2 separate regions of the Homo sapiens genome follow, and region 1 is linked to region 2. The links are contacts of gene promoters, found by promoter capture Hi-C in human tissues and cell types (Jung and others, 2019). All regions are on one chromosome and are shown on one strand. The core of a region is centred on a gene start or on the middle of the fragment in contact, and the rest is flanking DNA. Distances in the headings are between cores, read along the strand shown. Region 1 holds the start of LOC124900931 (a long non-coding RNA gene). Region 2 holds the start of SLC12A7 (solute carrier family 12 member 7).

Region 1 (5,655 bases), core at 1,926-4,425, 150 kb after region 2:
AAGGGAACTACCCCCTTCAGCCACTCAAAGAAAAAAAGAAATTTCAATAGCTCTACACTTCATTTTTAGAGGCTTTATTTTATTCTTTTAAAACTCTTCGTATTTTTCATGGTGTCCCATGTTTTCCTTTGATTTTGAACCCTTCTTCTACAGTTGATAACTTTAAAGATGGTCACTATAGATTAACTCTGGGGCTCGTGTCTGGGCACAGGCGGCCTCTGGCAGCTCTCACTCCTGGGGCTGGCTTCCCTGGGTGTTTCGTCACTAGGACTGTAGGATCGTCTTTGGGGGAACTCTGACCGTGGGAATCTCAGGAGGCAGGTGGGGGAGTCCCCCTTCAGAGCAGGTGGCCCTGGTTTAGGCAGTCTTGGCTTGTCACCAGCCTGGGACCGTTTCTGTTTGTTTGTCTTTTTACCTGGTAGTTCTGGCATCACAGAAATAATGTAAATATGGATCCCAGACTGGTTGATGAGCAGGTTCATCTATGGTCAATTTATCTCATTTTATCGACAGGTGGGTATTTTTTCGAAGTCTGTTCTTTCTTTCTTGTAAACTTAGAAGTTTGTTTTAAATGTTTGCTTTTGTTTTGCTTTGCGTCGTTCAGCATTTCTCATTGCCTCTGGGTGTCTCTCCGTTTTTCATGTGTCACAGCGATGTACACACAGGAAAACACCAAGAGGCATAGCCCCTGCTGTAAGTTAGATACGTGTTCATTTACATTTAAATTATTTCTTACAAGGAGGAAGTGTCGTACTCAACATCCATCTTTTGAGTATTTTGAATAATTCCTCCTTCATTCATTCCTTTATTTACCCATCAATAAATAATTATTAATAATTATAGGCTAATTTGCTATTCACATTTCTCTTTGCTCAGCGACACCCCAGCAGCAATGAGCACAGTTAGTGCCCTGACCTTGGTCTCTAAAGCTCATTCTCCAGTAAAAAGAGCAGGGTTCCTTGGAGAAATGATGGATTCCAGGGCTGGGGGAAAAACCGGGGCAGCCTGGGGTTATGCTGGAAAGCGAGAAAGTGCTCCCGAAGGATGGGAGGGTCCCAAGGGCCCGCCTGGAAAAGCCCAGTGGCCAGAGCTGGGTAAATTTTAGCAACTAAGTAAATAATGACAGTGTGGGATGATCATCCAAAGCATAAATATGCACAAGTCCACATGAAGGCACACGAGTGATTGAATAAATCAGTGAGGGGAGGGCGGTCCTTCCTTCAGAGGAATTCCAGCAGAGTAGTGAGGAAACAAATCATCTCAGAACACCACAGTAGTAATTGTTGCAGACAAAACCCACCAACCCATGCTAAAATTAGCAGAAAAGACTTTGAGGAGAAATAGGATACTCTTGTAGTCTCAAAGTATCTTCCCTGAGAGGCCAAGGCAGGTAGATCATCTGAGCTCAGGAGTTTGAGAGAAGCTTGGGCAACACGGTGAAATCCTGTCTCTAAAAAAATACAAAAATTACCTGGGCGCAGTGGCACACACCTGTAGTCCCAGCTACTTGGGAGGCTGAGCGAGTGGATTGCTTGAGCCCGGGAGGTAGAGGTTGCCGTGAGCTAAAATTGCACGACCGCACTCCAGCCTGAGGGACAGAGAGAGACCCCATCTCAAAATAAGTAAATACAAATAAATAAATTACAAATGAAGAATAGTAACGTTACAGTGGGGGAAGCCAGCAGATCCCACCAGAACCAGGTGACCAGGGCCAAAACAACCCATAATGAGGCAAAGCATAGGGCCCGTGAGTCACTACTGCGGACGCTGAGCAGGGTATGGGGCTTCTGCCAGTTTCTTGGCACAGACACATAACTTCGATCCAGACATGATAAAATAGCAAACTCAAACTGAGGGCTGTTCTTCAAAACACCCAGCCAGTGCTCTTCCAAGTGGCAAGGCCATGGGAGGCAAGGAAACACGGGGCCTGCCGTGGGCTGGAGCCTACAGCGAGATGACACCTGCGTGCTCATGGAACTCAGTGTTGTTTCTAAAGCAGGAGGTGGATGTTACCAGAAACTGGAGGAATCTGAATCAAGCTACTGTGTAGTTAATTGCCCCGTGTTAATTCTTAGCCTCAATCCTTGTGGTCAAGGTCGGGTATGCAAGGTGCTGACACGGGAGGAAGCTGCCTGAAGGGGGCGGGGACTCCTGGACGATCTTGGCAACTCTTCCATAAGTCTAACGTTATTTCAGAAAAAAAAGTGTAGTGACATAGCTTAACAAAAAATAAGTGTAAAAAAGCTGAAAAGCAACAGTTAATCCTACGTGAGAGACAACGATGGTTGACTTTCTATACTTGGTGTTTCCCCAAGAAAGAAGCCCCTGGATGCCAGGGTCCCTCCCACTCTACACGTCAGCACGAGGCCGCGGTTCGCTCCCATCATCCGGTTCTAGATGTCAGCACGAGGCCGCGGCTCGCACCTGTCATCTGGGAGTTTCTCCCTCCCCTCCTGCCCACAGGACAACTTCTACTTCTCCTTTGGAATTTCTGAACACAGGAGGCCCTTCTCGGAAGCTCAGCTCTGCCTTCGCCCGCCAGGGCTGTTTCTCCCCTCGAGCCTCTGTCTCCACACCTGTGAAACGGGACGATAAGGGCCCCTTCATGGTGCGGAGGGAGGGCTAAGTTCATAAACGCGTGCAAACGAGGTGAGGACTGGCCGGCACGTAGAGACCCCGTGATGGCTGTCGGCCACCAAACAGACATTCTCCGTGCTCTTCATGCTCTTGCTTATGAGGAGAGATGCTGTGAAGATAAGTTTAAAAACGGCCATGCCATGACAGTTCACAAATAATATTATTCCCTCTGCGAATGCCCTTACCTTCTCTGATGACACTTGTTTCCTATCAACATCGATTTCTGTTGGCTTTCATGCCACCCTCTCTGAATGAGAATTGGGAAGACTCCAATGGCTGTTTTTAACCCCATATTTTTCTGTTCTGTAAACTTCTGTTCATTGCCAGGCTTTGTATCTTCCTTCTTTTAAAAGCGAAAGTGTCCTTTCTCTTCTTGTTTGGAACCTAGAATTGTGTATCGATGCATTTTTGGTGATTTCCCAATAACTAGCTGTGATCCTGCTCCACAGAGCCCTAATGCTTGAGCTCAAACTGTCCGAACCCACACTGCACTCCTTGGAGAAAATGAATGCAGCCTGAATTCTGCTGCTGAGAGTGCCTGGCCGTCCTGGTGGTCACTGACTCACTGGGGTCTGGCCGTCCTGGCAGCTCCTCAGGTCACCGGACTCTGGGGAGGCACCGTGCTGGTTCTGCCTGTGCCTGGTGGGACCCCCTGGTTCCCGGCACTGTCTGGGCCTCGTTCTGAGAGATGACTCCTTCTCACCATTGGTCACCAGACCTGGGCCCTCGGCCACTCGTGGCGTGGCTGAGATTTCAGGTCTCAGAGGACTGTCACCCCCTTCCTCCTATTCAATTTCTGCATGAAGTCTCTAAATCAATAACAGAGAAGGGGAGAGGAAAAAGGAAAGAAAAACTCCCACCTAATGGCCATTTTCAGAGCAGCCGCAGAACCATGTGACACAGCTGACCGAGGCAGCATTGCAGATACATTTGTGTGCCTGCAGATCTCAGGTACACGGACCCGTCTCCATGCTCAGGGGGCCTCTAAAGGGGGTGCAGGCTTTGGGGGCAGAGCAGAGGGGTGTAGGACTCTGGGGAGGCCACGACCACTGAGGGAAGGACCTTGCTATCTCACAAGGCCGAATCCTCCCCAAGGTGGCTGCCGTCTCCCTGGACCCTGCGTTCTGCACCCCCGGGAGGTAGGGAGTTGGATCTCGTACCAACGATGAATGCGTGGACACGTGTGGATGCCGTCCGCTTCCCAGAGTCCCCAGCCGGGCTCCCCAGGGCTCTGCGGGACCCTCTTCCATGCACCTGTGCTGTTTGCTCTCAGGTGGCTGCAAGCAAGTCCCTTTTCTCAGCCAGGCAGGAGGGAGTGGAGGAAGGGCCTGTGTGTCTCCTCAGTTTCAAAGAAACTCCCACGGCAGAGCGTGCTCTTGAACTAAAGCTTGAATGAATCAGAAACATCTGGGCTGTTTTTTCTGTGCTTAAGATACAGGAAACAGACCCATCCAAAGCCGTTTGGGGTTTTATCAAGGGGTCATTTAAGATGCAGAGCAACTTGAAATCGCCCATCTGTTGGAGAGCCGTGCGTGCTGACAGAGGGTAAGAAACTACAGCCCGCGCAGCTGCGGTCTTCATGTGGTCGCTGCACGCAAGGGTTTGCCGTTATCTGTTGCTTCTGAAGGCAAGGGTGAGGGGAGCGGAACTGGGTGTTGCCTGGTTCTGCCGTCAGACCAGGCACTGGGGAGGGAGTCCTGTGGGGAGGTGGGGCCAGGCCTTGTCTCTGTGACAGTGAACGTCCCTGTCCATGTTGGTGTTTCTCAGACAAGCCACCTCCTTCCACCCCCACGGTGGTGCAAGGGGAGGCTTTAGTCCAGGATAACAAATTCTGAACCAGCTGCTGCGTCTGGAGCCCCTGAGGGCTTATGCACTGGTGACCAGGGAGTTTCCTGGCTTATCACATCCGAGGCCGACTTTCGGGCTACAGAGGGGCGTGTGAGCCCCTGGAGTAGACAGAGGAACTGCTTCTCTGCCAGGCGCTGTGTTGAGATGAGAGGGAGGGCAGGTCCTTCGGCTTCTGAAACATGAAACAACCCCACACCTAGGGCAGGGCGTGCAATGCCACCATGGCCTGGAAGACCCAAGAGTGATGAGTGCTGAGCACAGGCCAGGCCCGGGGCTGTCACGGGCAGAGCCACTGGCCCGGCGTGCAGGTGGGAAGGAGGTCTCGGTAACTAAGCATTCGCATGATTCTGTCCTCTGAGGACTGGGGCAGGTGCTTCCTCTACCTCCCAGCAGCCTCCCTAATTCCAGAAGAATAAGAACAGGGGAGAGGAAGCCAGTGCAAGGGCTCCCACCTGCTCCCTCCAAGCCAGAGGTGCTGCCTCGGTTCTTCACTTCCAGCCAGGCCATGCCTAGCAGGCCTTCGTCCAGTCCACGCGTGGCAGCGCTTGGCCTGCCTCAGGCCTGTGTCCTCAGGCATTGTTCCCTCCTGTGTCTGCCCTTGTCTGGGGAGTATTTTCTGTCCTCGCTTCAAGTCCCTGAGAGTCTGCCTGGCACCCTGACCCATTCTGCCAGCCCAGCCAGTCCATACCAGGGAAGCTCCAAGGGTGGGCCTGGGTGGGCCGTGCCCTGGAGGAACACTTCTTGTGGCCCAGATGAACGCCGTGGGTGTGGGGGCCATGTGGACGGTGGTGGGTGAGGCCGGGGGTCCCCACAGCGAGGGCTTGTGGGTCTTGGTGCTGCTTCCATGTGGAGGGGAACTGAGGTCTAAGGTACAGCCCAGGTCCCAGGCCGGGTCACCCCCGTCCACCCTGCCTGTCTTCCGTGTGCTTGGGGAAGTGGAGGCAGCCCTGCCGAGGCCCCACGTCCTCTGTCACCTTTGCAGACTTTGGCACCCCGTGATGCTACCGTCCTGAGTGCCCCGGGGCCTGGCTGGTGTAAGCGTCTTCCTGAATTCCCTCTTTCATTCAAGCTCTAGAATTGGGCGCCACTCTGTGCCAGGCGGCTGGGGCTAGACCCCGCTCCCCGGCTGATGCTGTCCTGCCCCAGGGATGCCTGGCCAGGCTCTTGCTG
Region 2 (5,847 bases), core at 2,894-5,393:
TTCTTCAGGGGAGATGCAGCCATGGGCCTGGGGCTGTGGCTGGGGTCTTCTGTCATCCCTGCCTACCACAGCTCCCTTCGAGCCCCCACAGGTGGTGGCGGATGTGGGGCTTTAGGGCCACCCTGGCCATGGGCAGAATTCTCGGCCCTGGTGGGACTCCTGGGCAGGGAGAGTGTGGGTCCCACAGGTGGCCGGAGACTCTGCTTCCTCCACTGATGTCCACATACCCCACCCTGCCAGGAGAGGCTCACCACGCTTAAAAAAAAAAAGGTTTGTTTTTTAAAAATCACTTTAGCCTTGGGTAACTGGGGCCTCCCTTCCCTCTCCTCCCTTCCCACCTCTTTCCTTTCCCTCCCCCTTCCCCCGATTCTCCTTCCTCCCCTCTCTCTTCTGCTCTGCCCTATTCGCTCTCTCCCCCACTCACCATGGGTGCTGGGCCAACAGGCAAGAACCTGGGTGGGTGCCCGGCCCTGCCAGGCAGAAGGCGGGTGGCTTTCTGGTGAGAAGGAGTGTGGGGCCTCCAGGGCCGGCCTCCTCCAGGTGTCCCCTTCCCTGGACACGGAGCTCTCCACGGACACTCTGCCTGCCAGCCCCACCTGCATCCTTCAGCCCTGGAGGTGCGCCCTGCCTGATACCCGACAGCAGGTTCCCAGCCCAGAAGGATGCAGATGGCGCACCAGGAGATGAGCCCCCCACCCTAACAGGAAAGCAGAAGTGGACTGGGGGGACCCGCGGACCTGGGGAGAAGCTCCGTGGGCAGAGGCACACAGATACCTGGAGGCAGCCTGCGTCTGGTGAGAGCCCTCCCAGGCCACAGCCCTGATTCCAAGCCGTGGGCACGAGCGGCCTCCTGGCTTGGAAGCTGGCATTGGGTGTCCGTCCTAATCCATTAGAAACTCCACCCCAGGGTGGCAGGCAGCAGGGACTGTTTCGAGAATCTACACACAGAATGTAACCACCATCGGCTACACTTTCGCACTAAATCCCAGGGTTCCCCTGGCTGTGCCCTGCACACGGCCAAGAGGCCATCGCAGATGACCAGGCTCACATCATAAGGATGCGAGATTGCATTTGAAGAGGCCCCCTGGGCAAAGCTGGACACCGATGCTTGGAAAGGGCACTAATGGTGATCGACTGAGACCCACCAATGTGTTTCATCAGCGATGTACAAATATACTTGGGAGATTGTCGGGAACCAATTCACCGTTGTGGAAACTGACAAATGAGGGAGAGGCACCCTTGCCCTGCCTTTCCTGTGGGCACCATTATCCAGATGGCCAGACGGACAAGATGAGCCTCTCCCTCCAGTGAATTCATGACGAAGCCACCACGCACTGGAAAATCACCATTTTGCTCCATGAATCTGTCGATTCAGACATCAAGCACCAACGACTGCGGACGGAGGAGCTACCACCAGACAGTGCGTGGCTCCCTCTGCGAGCCCCCGGCCTTGCCAGGGGACTGGACCCGGATCCCAGCAGTCCCCTGGCTCCAGGTGCCCACTTCCAGGAGACGCAGAGGCCTGCACCGAAAGATGCAGCTCCAACCCAGGCCTCGGGTACCTCCACGTGTCCGAGGGCCACTTCCTACAACAGGTGCCGGGTACAGAAAAGGACAGAGGGATGGAGGTGGGTAGGAAGAGAGCACTGAAAGTCACACAACGCACATTTAACCCCAGGCTGCCGTGTGGGAGGATATACGTGGACACGGAAACCCACAGAGCGAAGGGAGGGGCCACCAGACCCCTAGGGATGGGCTACTGATGGGATGGGAGGGGCCTGCAGCGGCTTCTGGGCTCCGGCAAGGGTCTCTGTCTTGACCCGCAGGTGCTTACAGGGTGCTGATCCCTGTCGTGACTCACCTGATTAGAATGCAAAAGGCAGCAGACCTCACCCCCCACCCGAGGTCTCCCACAAGTAAGATCTAAGATTTAAACAAGAGAAGCCACCTGCCTTCTGCCTGGCAGGGCTGGGCACCCACCCAGGTGCTTCAGCCATGGCCCCTGGTCCTAGTCAAGATTTTGTAATCACAGAGAAGACCACCCTCGGAGCTGCCACAGGACCCTAAACTCCTGGGCCTCAGTTTCCTCCTCTGTAAAATGAAGCTGATGAGTCCTGAGTCCGGGAGCTGGCCCTGGCCACAGACCCTCCAAACCAGCTCCTCTGAAGGTCCACAGCCAGCACATGGCGGGCAGCCGGCCCTGGGGTCCTGGGGTGTGAAGCAGAGCTTGGATGTGCGACGGGAGCCCTGCACATCTGTTGCTCCTGCTGGCATCACTTGGGAAGGCCTCGTGCCCACCCTGAGCTCTGTCCAACCCTCGGGAATAGCGCTGGGTGGCAACCAGGGTTGAATGTACAGAAGCCCCTGCTGGGGTGACTGAGGAGAGGGTTTACCCAGCACCCTAAGTGTGAACCCTATAATTGACCCCATTGGGCACTTCTGTTCCCACCCCCTGGATCTTTTTAGCAAAGCCAGCCCTCCTCATAAGGATGCCTGGGAACTATTTTATCTTCTGGGGAGGTGATGGTTTCCTACCTTCCAACCCACTGACCCAGGGAGGCAGCTGACCTAGCACCATCCACAGCCCTGAGCTCCCTTTGGTGGGAGGTGGGGTGAGAGTGTGGAGCAGGCACAGCTCCAGACACCCAGGCCAGAGGAACCCCCACCTCTGCAAGGGCTGGTGCTGGATGGGCGACGTTCCAGGAGGGTCCCAGGCCTACAGCTTCTGCCCAGAAGAGTCCATGGGGCAAAGGGGTAGAACCCTAGGCCACCCCAGGGCATGACTGGCTTTACTGGAAATGGCTGGAGAGGTTGGGCTTGCGTTCCTTGAACCCACAGAGCCCGGTGATCCCACAGCCCGGAGGCCATCACTCCCCTCCAGCTGCCTTTTAGGATTAGACAGGCAAGCGGCTAAAACATGGCCAGGCCATACCCATTTTCCACGTGACAAGAGGCTGTGGCCGTGTTTGCCCACACCACCTGTGTTTCTGCTTTGTTGTCGTACAGCAGTTGTGGGTGATTAGGAATAAAGGCTGACTCATTGCACCTGTGTGCCATAGCATTTTAGCCCAATTCCCCATTGACGGACATCTGATTGTTCCGTTTTTCATGAGTCATTTGTTGAGAAATGTGCCAGGTGCTGGCCGGTGGTATCCTGGTGTCTGCCTGGTGGGTTCTGGAACTCCACCTTCCCTGCATCACCCTGTGAGCTTCTGGAACATTTCCCAAGGAGGGAAGGGAGGGTTCTAGGGCAGGGGCCGCGGGGCACTCCTGGGGCAGGTGTGGAGGAGACTGGGGTCTTCGTGGGTGGTATTTGTCATGGGTGGGGGGGGGGACTCCCTCTACTGGGTTAGGTCCCTAAACTGGAGCTGGACCAAGCTCCGGAGTACCCCACCCCCAGGCTATCCAAGGCTCCTTCCACTGGAGTTGCCTTTGCAGCCAGGTTGGGCTAGCCAGGAGCCAGGCTAGGAGCCCAGGGTCTGAGCGGGTGTTGACAGCCTGGAGTGGGTGGGCGGACTGTGTGGGAGGTGGGTGCTGGAGGATGGCAGGGGGGAACAGGAGGGGGAAGAAGGAGGGGTAGGGGGCTGGAGCAGGAAATGGGGGGCAAACAGGAGGGGGTGCGGGAGGGGGCGCAGAAGGAGGAGGGGCCCAGCAGGAGGGGGTGCAGAAAGGGCAGGGGTTCCAGCAGGAGGGGGTTCATAGGGGCAGGGGGGCCCAGCAGGAGGGGGTGCAGGAAGGGTGGGGGGGTGCAGGAGGGGTGAGGGGTTCCAGCAGAAGGGCGTGCAGGAGGGGCAGGGGGCTGGAGCAGGAGTGGGGGGTCGGGGAAGGGGACAAGAGGGGAGGCGGGGAGGGGGCCGGGGAGGGCGGGGAGGGCGGGGAGTTCCAGCAGGAGGGGCAGGGGGCTGGAGCAGGAGGGGGTGCAGGAGACTGAGCGGGGATTCGCGGGCTCTGCGATGGTCGGGAGCGCAGGCAGCGAAAGCCCCGCGTCCCGGGTCGCGGCGGTCAGACAGACGCAGCCTGGGTTGGGGTCCCTGCAGGAAGTCGCCGCGGGCCAACTTTTCGTGGGGCCGCGGGGCAAGCAGGTGAAGTCACGTGGCCCGGGCGGGGCGGGGCGGCTCGGTCGGACCCCGCCCCTGCCTCCAAGTCCCGTGGCGTCGGCGGGAGCGGCGCAGCGCGGGCCGGGCCGGGACGGGGACTGTCGGCTGCAGGCGGCCATGCCCACCAACTTCACCGTGGTGCCCGTGGAGGCTCACGCCGACGGCGGCGGGGACGAGACTGCCGAGCGGACGGAGGCTCCGGGCACCCCCGAGGGCCCCGAGCCCGAGCGCCCCAGCCCGGGTGAGCGCGGCCGCACCTGGCCGGACAAAGGCCGAGCGCCCCGAGCGCGGGTCTGGGCCCGGCATCCGGGAGCGGAGGCGGGCGGCGGGGCCGGGGGTACAGGAGGCGCCCCTTCCCGCGCCCCCACCGCCTGTTCTCGGTCCCCCACGAGGGCCCCCACCCCACGTTAGTGGCAGCGCTAGGGGGCGAGGGGCCCTGCCAGGGCTCCCGGTACGGTCAGCTCGGGTGGGACCGGGGGCAGAGGTGTGGACGCCGCTGCTGGTAGCCATGGAAACGGGGAGGGGCTGGAGCGCGCCTCCGGAGGGAGCCCGGGCCCCTGGGTGGTCCCTAGTGGGACAGGGGTGGCGGTGGAGACCCGGGCGGTTCGGGAGCCGGGGCGTCCTGCGTCCCCCGCGCTCTCCCTTCCCCTGCGCCGCGGCCGTCCGGTAACACTAGCCCGGGCCGGCCCGTCCTGCCCCCGCCTGACCCTGGAGGAGCCGCCCACCCCCCAGAGGCGGAACAGGAAGGACTGCGCCCTGGCTGGGGAGGGGGCAGCCACCGGGGCCTTGCTCAGGCCGCGTCCTCCGTGTTCCCGTCCCCCGTTCCGGGAATCTGGAGGTTTCTAGCACTTTCACTTTCTCTAGGGGGTGGGGACGGGGCTGGGGAGAGAATCCCCCAGCCCTGTTCCCTCCATCCTGGCTCCAAATCCCAGTTACTCCCCGGATCTCAGCCCCCTCTAGAAACCGGAGGCTCTTAGGCCCTTCCATCCGGAGTCTCTGAGAAGGTGTCCGGACTCAGTCCAGCCCCCACCCCGCGTGCTGGCAGTGCCCGCATGTGCCCGGGTCTCATGCAGTGGGTGGCAGCCTCCCTGCTCCCTGGCAGTGGAAGGAAGGTGAGGTCTGTCCAGGGACAAGTCCGGTGCCAGACCCCAGATCCTTCCTAACCCACCATCCCGGGCAGGAAAGGCCAGACATCCCCTCCAGGCAGTTTAGGAACCCGGAGACACGGGTGGGGACCCACCGTGAAGGCAGTGGCCTGGTGGCCTGGGGTGCGTCATCAGGGTCCCCGTGGCGGGCGAAGAGTGGTCTCAGCTTCCTCTGCACAGAGGCCAGCCCAGATCTTGGAAGTGGTCAGGCGGGGCGCCAGGCTCAACACCAGGTGAAGTGCTAACTAAGCAGGGTCCGTGAGTCCAAGCCCCTTCTCTCCAGTCACCACCGTGGAGGCAGGAAGCACCAAGGAGTGTGGGCCCTGGCGTGGTCTTTCTGTGTGAGCTTTGTAGCAACGCCCCCGGAACGCACTCAGAAGGAGCCTCTTCTTGTCTGGCCGGCCCCTTCTCAAGGCTGATCAGGTTCACTTTTGTCTTTAGACTGTAAGTGTCATTTGCTTTTAAGCCAGAGAGAATTTTGTGCTTGTTCGTTTTCTTGTCTCTTCTACTCTCAAGGCTGTTGAGCAGTGCCCTGGGCCTGTGTCTGCCCAGCAGGAAGTGGCCCTGGCTGAGCGCTGCCCATGTCGCTGCCCGCGCACTCAGGT

Evidence for each region. Contacts are between HindIII fragments. The study calls those that stand out against the background at their distance.
Region 1: a contact is called between a fragment that was not itself captured here and the fragment with the promoter of SLC12A7 in region 2, in 1 of the 25 tissues and cell types used here (spleen).

Annotation. Positions count from the first base shown.
Region 1 is chr5:962,626-968,280 of GRCh38, reverse strand. It overlaps LOC124900931 (a long non-coding RNA gene), which reads left to right and starts at 4,120. Exons shown (of 2, transcript XR_007058676.1): 1 at 4,120-4,182; 2 at 5,555-5,655. RefSeq lists enhancers at 2,444-2,945, 4,532-4,691. The HindIII fragment of the contact is 5,091 bases long and covers 630-5,655 here.
Region 2 is chr5:1,110,359-1,116,205 of GRCh38, reverse strand. SLC12A7 (solute carrier family 12 member 7) reads left to right here and starts at 4,143. Exons shown (of 24, transcript NM_006598.3): 1 at 4,143-4,338. The coding sequence starts at 4,215. The HindIII fragment of the contact is 45,067 bases long and covers 1-5,847 here.